Regions from separate parts of the Homo sapiens genome. Here all the other regions are linked to region 1. The links are contacts of gene promoters, found by promoter capture Hi-C in blood cells and fetal thymus (Javierre and others, 2016). All regions are on one chromosome and are shown on one strand. The core of a region is centred on a gene start or on the middle of the fragment in contact, and the rest is flanking DNA. Distances in the headings are between cores, read along the strand shown. Region 1 holds the start of TTC27 (tetratricopeptide repeat domain 27). Region 2 holds the start of SPAST (spastin). Region 3 overlaps LTBP1 (latent transforming growth factor beta binding protein 1).

The links. Contacts are between HindIII fragments. The CHiCAGO score rates a contact against its expected background, and 5 or more counts as called.
Region 2: the fragment with the promoter of SPAST here is called in contact with the fragment with the promoter of TTC27 in region 1 in 13 of 17 cell types (total CD4 T cells, activated CD4 T cells, naive CD8 T cells and 10 more); the score reaches 13.7 in total CD4 T cells.
Region 3: a contact is called between a fragment that was not itself captured here and the fragment with the promoter of TTC27 in region 1, in 4 of 17 cell types (M2 macrophages, M0 macrophages, naive B cells and 1 more). The highest score is 11.5, in M2 macrophages.

Annotation. Positions count from the first base shown.
Region 1 is chr2:32,626,797-32,629,496 of GRCh38, forward strand. It overlaps TTC27 (tetratricopeptide repeat domain 27), which reads left to right and starts at 1,254. Exons shown (of 20, transcript NM_017735.5): 1 at 1,254-1,584. The coding sequence starts at 1,497. RefSeq lists enhancers at 454-1,115, 834-893, 1,116-1,775, 1,304-1,363 and a silencer at 1,614-1,743. The HindIII fragment of the contact is 6,273 bases long and covers 1-2,700 here.
Region 2 is chr2:32,062,207-32,064,906 of GRCh38, forward strand. It overlaps SPAST (spastin), which reads left to right and starts at 1,350. Exons shown (of 17, transcript NM_014946.4): 1 at 1,350-2,040. The coding sequence starts at 1,626. RefSeq lists enhancers at 1,144-1,213, 1,262-2,062 and silencers at 1,434-1,573, 1,634-2,053, 2,084-2,213. The HindIII fragment of the contact is 15,667 bases long and covers 1-2,700 here.
Region 3 is chr2:33,397,329-33,400,028 of GRCh38, forward strand. LTBP1 (latent transforming growth factor beta binding protein 1) reads left to right here. Exons shown (of 34, transcript NM_206943.4): 34 at 1,036-2,181. The coding sequence ends at 1,217. Among named protein-coding and RNA genes, the nearest start is that of MIR4430, 20 kb to the right of the region's middle. The HindIII fragment of the contact is 990 bases long and covers 929-1,918 here.

The DNA.
Region 1 (2,700 bases), core at 4-2,503:
ACAGTCAGGTCCGGCTTCCTTTGGTATCTGATGGCAATGGCTGAAATGAGCTGAGCTGAGTTCCTCTCCCTTCACATTCTGGAGTGGCTCTTTACTGAGTAAGAAAGTGAATTAACATTTATTTAGCTTCTTCCTTGGAGCTGGGTACCGGGTCAGCCTCTTTTCAGAGAGCTTTTGCTCTTGTGGTCAGAGTTACCCTGCAGTTTTCTCCTGGCTCTTACATGACATATCTCAGTACAGGTGTCAAGCCAATGGGACAAAGCCATAGTCCTGTTTTCCTTCCCTCCTTCCCTCCCTCCCTCCCTTCCTTCCTTCTTCCCTCCCTCCCTCCCTCTTTCCTATTGCCCAGGCTGGAGTGCAGTGGCACCATCTCAGCTCACTGAAACCTCCGCCTCCCGGGTTCAAGCAATTCCCCCGCCTCACCGTCCCGAGTAGCTGGGTTTACAGGGGTGCCCCACTACGTCCGGCTAATTTTTGTATTTTTAGTAGAGACGGGTTTCACCATATTGGCCAGGCTGGTCTCGAACTCCTGACCTCAGGTGATCCATCCGCTTCATCCTCCCAAAGTGCTGAGATTACAGGCGTGAGCTACCGCGCCCGCCCTCTAACTGTTTCTTTGGAGTGCTGCTAGGAAGATTCAAAGAAGTGCAAATAAGGTACCAGCGGAGGCTGGTTTGTCTCCTTGCAATTTCTTTGTGATCACCCCTGGGATCACTCTTCTACAGCGTTCCGACAGTGTTCCAAAAACTTCCCTGCACCAGCGGCAGGGGCAGATTTCCCACCCGGCCATGATTCATGTAGAGCAGTGTCAAAACCAGATCCTTTCCTTACACGCTCATTCGCCGAAAGACCCATGCTATGCTGACGGGGTTCCAACCTGGGCTTCACCGACTCCACGTCAGAGGGTCTGTGATTCCCTGAGAGGGTACCCTTAGGCTGAGAGCAAGGGCCCACCTGCACTCTGCGCGAAGGACTGTGGTTTTCATCGGGTTGTCGAGAGCGTTCTAACCCAAAATGCTTTAAGAATCACAACTCTAGCCCTTCTAATCAAACTGCTTTGGCCAAGACGTCCGTTTTGAGTTGCATTTGAACCCTAGCCCTCGGTGGGAGGCACACTCACTTCCACGTTCACAGTTCTTGGAAGCGGTCCCACTGGGGGCGGGGCTGAGCGCGACCGCGCCCTCAACTCCCCCTATTGCCCGCCCCGGGGTGGGGCATAACCACCCAACAGGCTCCTTACTCAAGCTCGGGTTCTTCTCCTAGGCGGAAGCCAGACCAGAGAGCGTGCGTGTTTTTCCCAGGGTGCCCCGCGCTGCTGTTATGGCCGCCTCCTTGAGGTAGTATCCGCACATGGAATTCTAGGGCCGCAGGTGTATTTACGGTAACTGTCGCCACTAGATTTCAGCGCCTTTGGACTCTCCTGTTTTCACTTTCTTTTGTTGACTCCCGTGTGGCCCTCGTGGGAGCCTGTTTTGGCTGCAGCGGTGTCTGGGGTGATGTGGACCCCGGAGCTGGCAATTCTGAGGGGATTCCCCACTGAGGCTGAGCGGCAGCAATGGAAACAGGAGGGGGTCGTCGGTTCAGGTGAGAGGCGCACCTACCGGGCCTTAGGCTATCGTGGGAACTGTGAGGAAAAGGGATGGCAGCGACTGATTCTCATCCCTCCCTTCATTTTTCCCTAACACAGTCTAGCTGATTCCTTGAGGCTTTGGGTCGTTTAGTCTTTGACATGGTGGGCGTGGTCCTCACTTTCTTTGCGCAAAACTTCTTACCGCCCAGGTTCAGTAATAATGACAATGGCAATGTCAGTTATTTTTCTAAGCCCTTAACATGTACTCAGTCATTTAATGCTTATAGTAGATACTTAAGGTAGATTCAATTTTTAATCCCATTTTGCGGTGAAGATCTGTAAATACAGTTGGGTTAAGTAATTTTATTTTATCTATTTATTTATTTATTTATTTATTTATTTATTTATTTATTGAGACGGAGTTTTGCTTTTTGCCCAGGCTGGAGTGCAATGGCGCGATCTCGGCTCGCTGCAACCTCCGCCTCCCGGGTTCAAGTGATTCTCCTGCCTCAGCCTCCAGGGTAGCTGGGATTACAGGCATGCGCCACCACGCCCGGCTAATTTTGTATTTTTAGTAGAGTCGAGGTTTCACCATGTTGGCCTAGCTGGTCTGGAACTCCTGACCTCAGATGATTCGCCTGCCTCAGCCTCCCAAAGTGCTGGGATTACAGGCCTGAGCCACCGCGCCCGGGTCTGGTTAAGTAATTTATTTAAGGTCACACTGTTGGTAAGCAGAGGAGCTAAAATGAGGCAGCAAAGTTGTTTTTTTGGGGGGATGGAGTCTCCCTCTTGTTGCTCTGGCTGGAGTGCACTGGTGCCATCTCGGCTCACTGCAACCTCCGCTTCCCCGGTTCAAGCGATTCTCCTGCTTCAGCCTCCAAAGTAGCTGGGACTACAGGCATGCACCACCATGCCCGGCTAATTTTGTGTTTTTAGTAGAGACGGCTTTCATCATGTTGGTCAGGCTGGTCTGGAACTCCTGACCTCAGGTGATCCACCCGCCTCGGCCTCCCAAAGTGCTGGGATTACAGCCATGAGCCACCATGCACGGCCTAGGCGGCAATGATTTATTTTTTTTATTTTTTTGAGACAGAGTCTCGCTCTGTCGCCTAGGCTGGAGTGCAGTGGCG
Region 2 (2,700 bases), core at 100-2,599, 560 kb before region 1:
TGAAACCCTGTCCAAAAAATAAAAAAATAAAGCTGTGGCAGAATGTGGAGATTCTTGGAAGCTGGAAGCTCTCATGGGGCATTTGGAAACCTCACATTGTAAATAACGGAGTCTTTTTATCAGTTTGGCTTCCTTAGTTTTAGGAAACAAGAAATAATTATGGCTAACTCAAGTAAAAAGAGAAAGAGAAGAGAAAAAAGACGTGGAGATAGAGAGAGAGGGAGAGAGAGGAAAAGACGAAAGGAAGGAAGGGGGAAAGGAGAGAGGAAGAGAGAAACAGAGAAACAGACTGATTAGTGTATTGGATAGATTACATAACCAAGTGACCAGTCAGGAACCCAGCAGCTCTGGGGGAGCTCAATGTGATGCATTGATAAACCCGCTCTTAAGAGCACTCGTTTCCAGTTACTTTCTATTCGGTGGGTCTCCAGCCAAGATTCCAGGTCCCAGGAGAATCTGACTGACCTAGTGTTTGCTTCCGCCTTTGCGGTCTGGGTTCTGTGCTTGCAGCTCATTAGAATACAGGGAGCAGAGACAAGCAGGTAGTTTCCCAAAGGAAGGGATGCTGAGTAGATTAAAAAAAAAGTGTAGATTCTTCAGTAAACTATGGGATGGTAACTATGCAAAACCTAAGATTTCCCTTATTCAAATAAATTATCTTTCATATTAGACATCTAAATATGCACTAATTTAGTTAAACCCCTGGGTTAGTTGATCTCATCACACTGAGCTAACATTTTTGTTGCTGTTGTTTGCAGTGACCTGAAGTTTCTTATCTTCACAATTGCTTTCCTCTCAAATAATTCCCAGATTTTAAATTTTTATTTTATTTTTTCTGGAGACGGAGTCTCGCTCTGTCGCCCAGGCTGGAGTGCAGTGGCGCGATCTCAGCTCACTTGCAGCCTCTGCCTCCCGAGTTCAAGCGATTCTCCGGCCTTAGCCTTCCAACCAGCTGGGACTACAGGCGCGCGCCCCCACGCCCGGCTAATTTAATTCCCAGATTGATATCCATTGCTTCTGAGATGGGCCAATTATCCTTCGGAGAAGACTTAGGTCGCCTGGCAGAAAAAGATGAAAGAAATCTAAGAAAACGACGACACTGAGAGAGGAGCCTAGCGAACCAGCAGAGCGACCCCAAGCCGCAATTCCCCCTTCCGTGGATCGATTACGAAGGCTTCCTGGCAGGAGCTCTCCAGGGCTGCCGACGTGAGCCGAACTGCACATTGGGAACTGTAGTTGAGTGGGAAAGCCGAGAGGCGGGGGCCGCACACGCGTACAGGGGCCCCGGTCAACAAAGACGCGCCGTGCGCGCGCGCGCCGGAGAAAAACACGGGAAGACGTGCGCGTGCGCGGCCGCCGCTGGGAGCCACCAGGCGGCGGAGAGGACAGCGACAGGAAGGGAGGGGCCCGAGCCACCGACTGCAGGAGGAGAAGGGGTTGTGCTCCTGGCCGAGGAAGGAGAAAGGGGCGGGGCCGGCGGGCAGCGTGCGGCAGTGCGGAGCTCCTGAGACCGGCGGGCACACGGGGGTCTGTGGCCCCCGCCGTAGCAGTGGCTGCCGCCGTCGCTTGGTTCCCGTCGGTCTGCGGGAGGCGGGTTATGGCGGCGGCGGCAGTGAGAGCTGTGAATGAATTCTCCGGGTGGACGAGGGAAGAAGAAAGGCTCCGGCGGCGCCAGCAACCCGGTGCCTCCCAGGCCTCCGCCCCCTTGCCTGGCCCCCGCCCCTCCCGCCGCCGGGCCGGCCCCTCCGCCCGAGTCGCCGCATAAGCGGAACCTGTACTATTTCTCCTACCCGCTGTTTGTAGGCTTCGCGCTGCTGCGTTTGGTCGCCTTCCACCTGGGGCTCCTCTTCGTGTGGCTCTGCCAGCGCTTCTCCCGCGCCCTCATGGCAGCCAAGAGGAGCTCCGGGGCCGCGCCAGCACCTGCCTCGGCCTCGGCCCCGGCGCCGGTGCCGGGCGGCGAGGCCGAGCGCGTCCGAGTCTTCCACAAACAGGCCTTCGAGTACATCTCCATTGCCCTGCGCATCGATGAGGATGAGAAAGGTAACTAGGGGGCTGGGGGAGGGGGCGGCGGCGCCGGGAAGAAGGCGGTGGGGTCGCCGGGGGAGGGCAACACCTGCGTCCCTTTTCTGCGGGAGGGGACGGTGCACCCCCGGAATTGATATGCCCCGGGAGACTGCTTTCCCGTAGGTCGGAGCCTCATCTTCTAGTATTCTTAAAACCTCTCCCCTTTCAGGGCACTGTAGCTGTCGACTTTGTTTCAGACACCAGCCTTCCCCCACACTTCTGCATGACCCAGGTCACTATGAGACACCCAGACGTGTTGATGACAGTGACATTTGTCCTAGAGTGACCACACTGATCCTTTCTAGCACTGTGAAGAGTGTGCAGCTTCCTCTGAACCAAGGTTTCCAAAAGGTTTTGATATTGAAGAAGCAGTGCCGCCTTACTGGCTTTTAATGAAAGCAGAGTATTGTAGTGTCAGAAAAAAAGAACAAATGGTGACAATTTTGAAAGAAATAGCTGCATATGACTGCAGTTGAATTTGCATCATTTTAATCAAGATAATCATTTTATCAGTACAACGATTCCTGAATACTTTTTCAATGAAGTTATATTTAGCATAAAACTTTTCCCCCTGTTGCTTTGATTTTAATTAAAACAGTATTCCAAAGTAGCCTTTAATTTCCAAGTTGAAATGTT
Region 3 (2,700 bases), core at 174-2,673, 770 kb after region 1:
CCCGTATCTCAGTCAGTAGAGAACATTTAAGATAGATTTGCTGAGTTTCAGTTTGAGAAGATGAGAAAAGTTCTGGAGATGTACATTAAGTACAGTATGAATATACTTAATGCCACTGGACTATATACTTAAAAATGGTTAAAATGGTAAATATGTTCTGTGTATTTTACCACAATTCTTTTTTTTTTTTTTTTTTGAGATGGAGTTTTACTCTTGTCGCCCAGGCTGGAGTGCAGTGGGGTGATCTTGACTCACTGCAACTTCTGCCTCCCAGGTTCAAGCAATGCTCCTGCCTCAGCCTCCTGAGTAGCTGGGACTACAGGCACCCGCCACCACACCCGGCTAATTTTTTTTTTTTTTTTTTTTTGTATTTTTAGTAGAGACGGGATTTCACCGTGTTAGCCAGGATGGTTTCAATCTCCTGACCTCGTGATCCGCCCACCTTGGCCTCCCAAAGTGCTGGGATTACAGGCGTGAGCCACCACGCCTGGCCTCTTCTCCATCTTGAAGCAGTCCTTTTGCCCACTTTGCTTTTGTTAGTTTTAATCCATGGTGTGTCTGTAAAATAGGTAACCTAGCTTCTTAACAGATGTTTCAAGTGAGTGAGAGCCTAAATGGGTCTCATGTAGAAGGAGGTCTGTGAATGTTATGGAAGGCTTTAGACAGGCTGTATGGAGAGGCCTCTGCGTAGGTATCTGGTTCCTCTTGACAAATCTAGCAGTTCCTCCATACCTATGGGAAGGAATTTGGAAGTAATATAGTTCCTCCAACTTCCTTGAGGTTCTACTAGAAAATGTCAAGCTCACAAAATGCTCATGTTTTGCTAGATAACAGTGAAAGAAGTTCTAGAACCTCCCTGATAATCTGCCTCTTTAAGATCTCAAAAAAGTCATCTTCGTCTTGTCTGTGACTGAAGCAATGACGAGAAAGCTTCCTTGGGGTGGTCGGGGGAAGGGCCTCAGGTAAGCCTCAGGTTATGTGTCCTCACAGAATAATATCCAAGATTGTTTACCTGCATGGCTTGACTTATTGCAGATGTAAATGAATGCGATGAGTTGAACAACCGGATGTCTCTCTGCAAGAATGCCAAGTGCATTAACACCGATGGTTCCTACAAGTGTTTGTGTCTGCCAGGCTACGTGCCTTCTGACAAGCCAAACTACTGCACTCCGTTGAATACCGCCTTGAATTTAGAGAAAGACAGTGACCTGGAGTGAAACAGAATCTACATAACCTAAGCCCATATACTCTGCACTGTGTAAAGGAAAAGGGAGAAATGTATTATACTTGAGACATTGCACCTACCCCGGAAGGCTGGAAATACAGAAACAGCATGGAATTGCAAGTCCTCTGAAGACAATGAGAGGATTTAGGATGAGCCCGATAGGTGTGGCAGACCAAATGGACATTTCTCTAAAAAACCAGTATATATAGTCTGTTCATATGTAAAATTCAATGGAAGAGAGGTGGAACAGTGCTGTTATTTTAAACAGAAGGTTGTATTATTATGTTGTTTTGTTTTTTTACTATTGCTTGATTAAATTTGGCATTTAAATAGTGGTGGAAATATTTTATATAATTTTCATTTTTTGGTTGTGCAGTTCCTTGGCTACTGTTTTTCTTTTACTTCAGTTTTTTAAAAATCTCAAATGAAAAAGTCTTCGATACAATATTGTTAAGCTGTATTATAAGTATTGTTACACAGGGTTATGCAATTCCCGGCCTGGAGCATTTTTGAAATTCAAATTGTCTGTCCTGTGGAGCAGGCAGTGATTTTGTTCCAAAACTTTGTATACACATTTGGAGAAAAGTACTTTATATTTTCAGTGTTTTGTCTGATTTTAATGTCCGTTCTTAGCCAAGCTGCTAGCAGGTGTTAATTGGATCCCTTTCCTTCACTGAAATGGAAGAGTTTATAAGCTTACGTTAGTATTGTAATATGTAAAGTAAGCCCAACAAAAATTTTTAAAAATTTGATGATCCCCAATATATCTACCATTGTATGTTAAATAAATCACCATTTTTGTAGAAAAAATTCTACCTGAGAGTAATTGTCAATGAGTACATGTGTATAAGTTGTATCCCACTCTCCCCACTTTTATCTTTTCCAGTGGTCTTCTGTTAATGTAGTGTCTTTTACAAGTTAATCATTAAATTTGTTAGATCTTGTTATGGGCTAAATTGTTTCCCCTAACATTCATATGTGGGAATTTTAACCTCTGATACTTCAGAAAGTGACTAGATTTGGAGATCGGATCTTTAATGAGGTAATTAAGGATAATGAGGTCATTGGAATGGCCCTAATCCAGTATGACTGCTGTCCTTGTGTCACCCATAGAAGGTGTCTGAGTTACCGGTGACGAATCCATATAGGTCTGCAGCAACCTCAGTTCTTGCCTCCTCAGAAGAATTTGACTGAGGGGTATAAGGCAGAAAAAGAGACCAGGCAAGTTTCAGAGCAGAAATGGAAGTTGATTTAAAAAGGCTTTAGAGCAGGAAAGAAAGGAAAGTTCACTTGGAAGAGACCCAAGTGGGCACCTGAAGGCCAAGTGCAGTGTTTAACCTTGACCTAGCTAGGATTTTACAGGCTGGCCCCTTTCCATGCTTCTTCCCTTAGGGTGGGCTGCCGGCACACACAGCACCCTCCTTACACTTGGGAAGTGAGCACACACAGTGTTGAGGAAGCTGTACATATGCCCA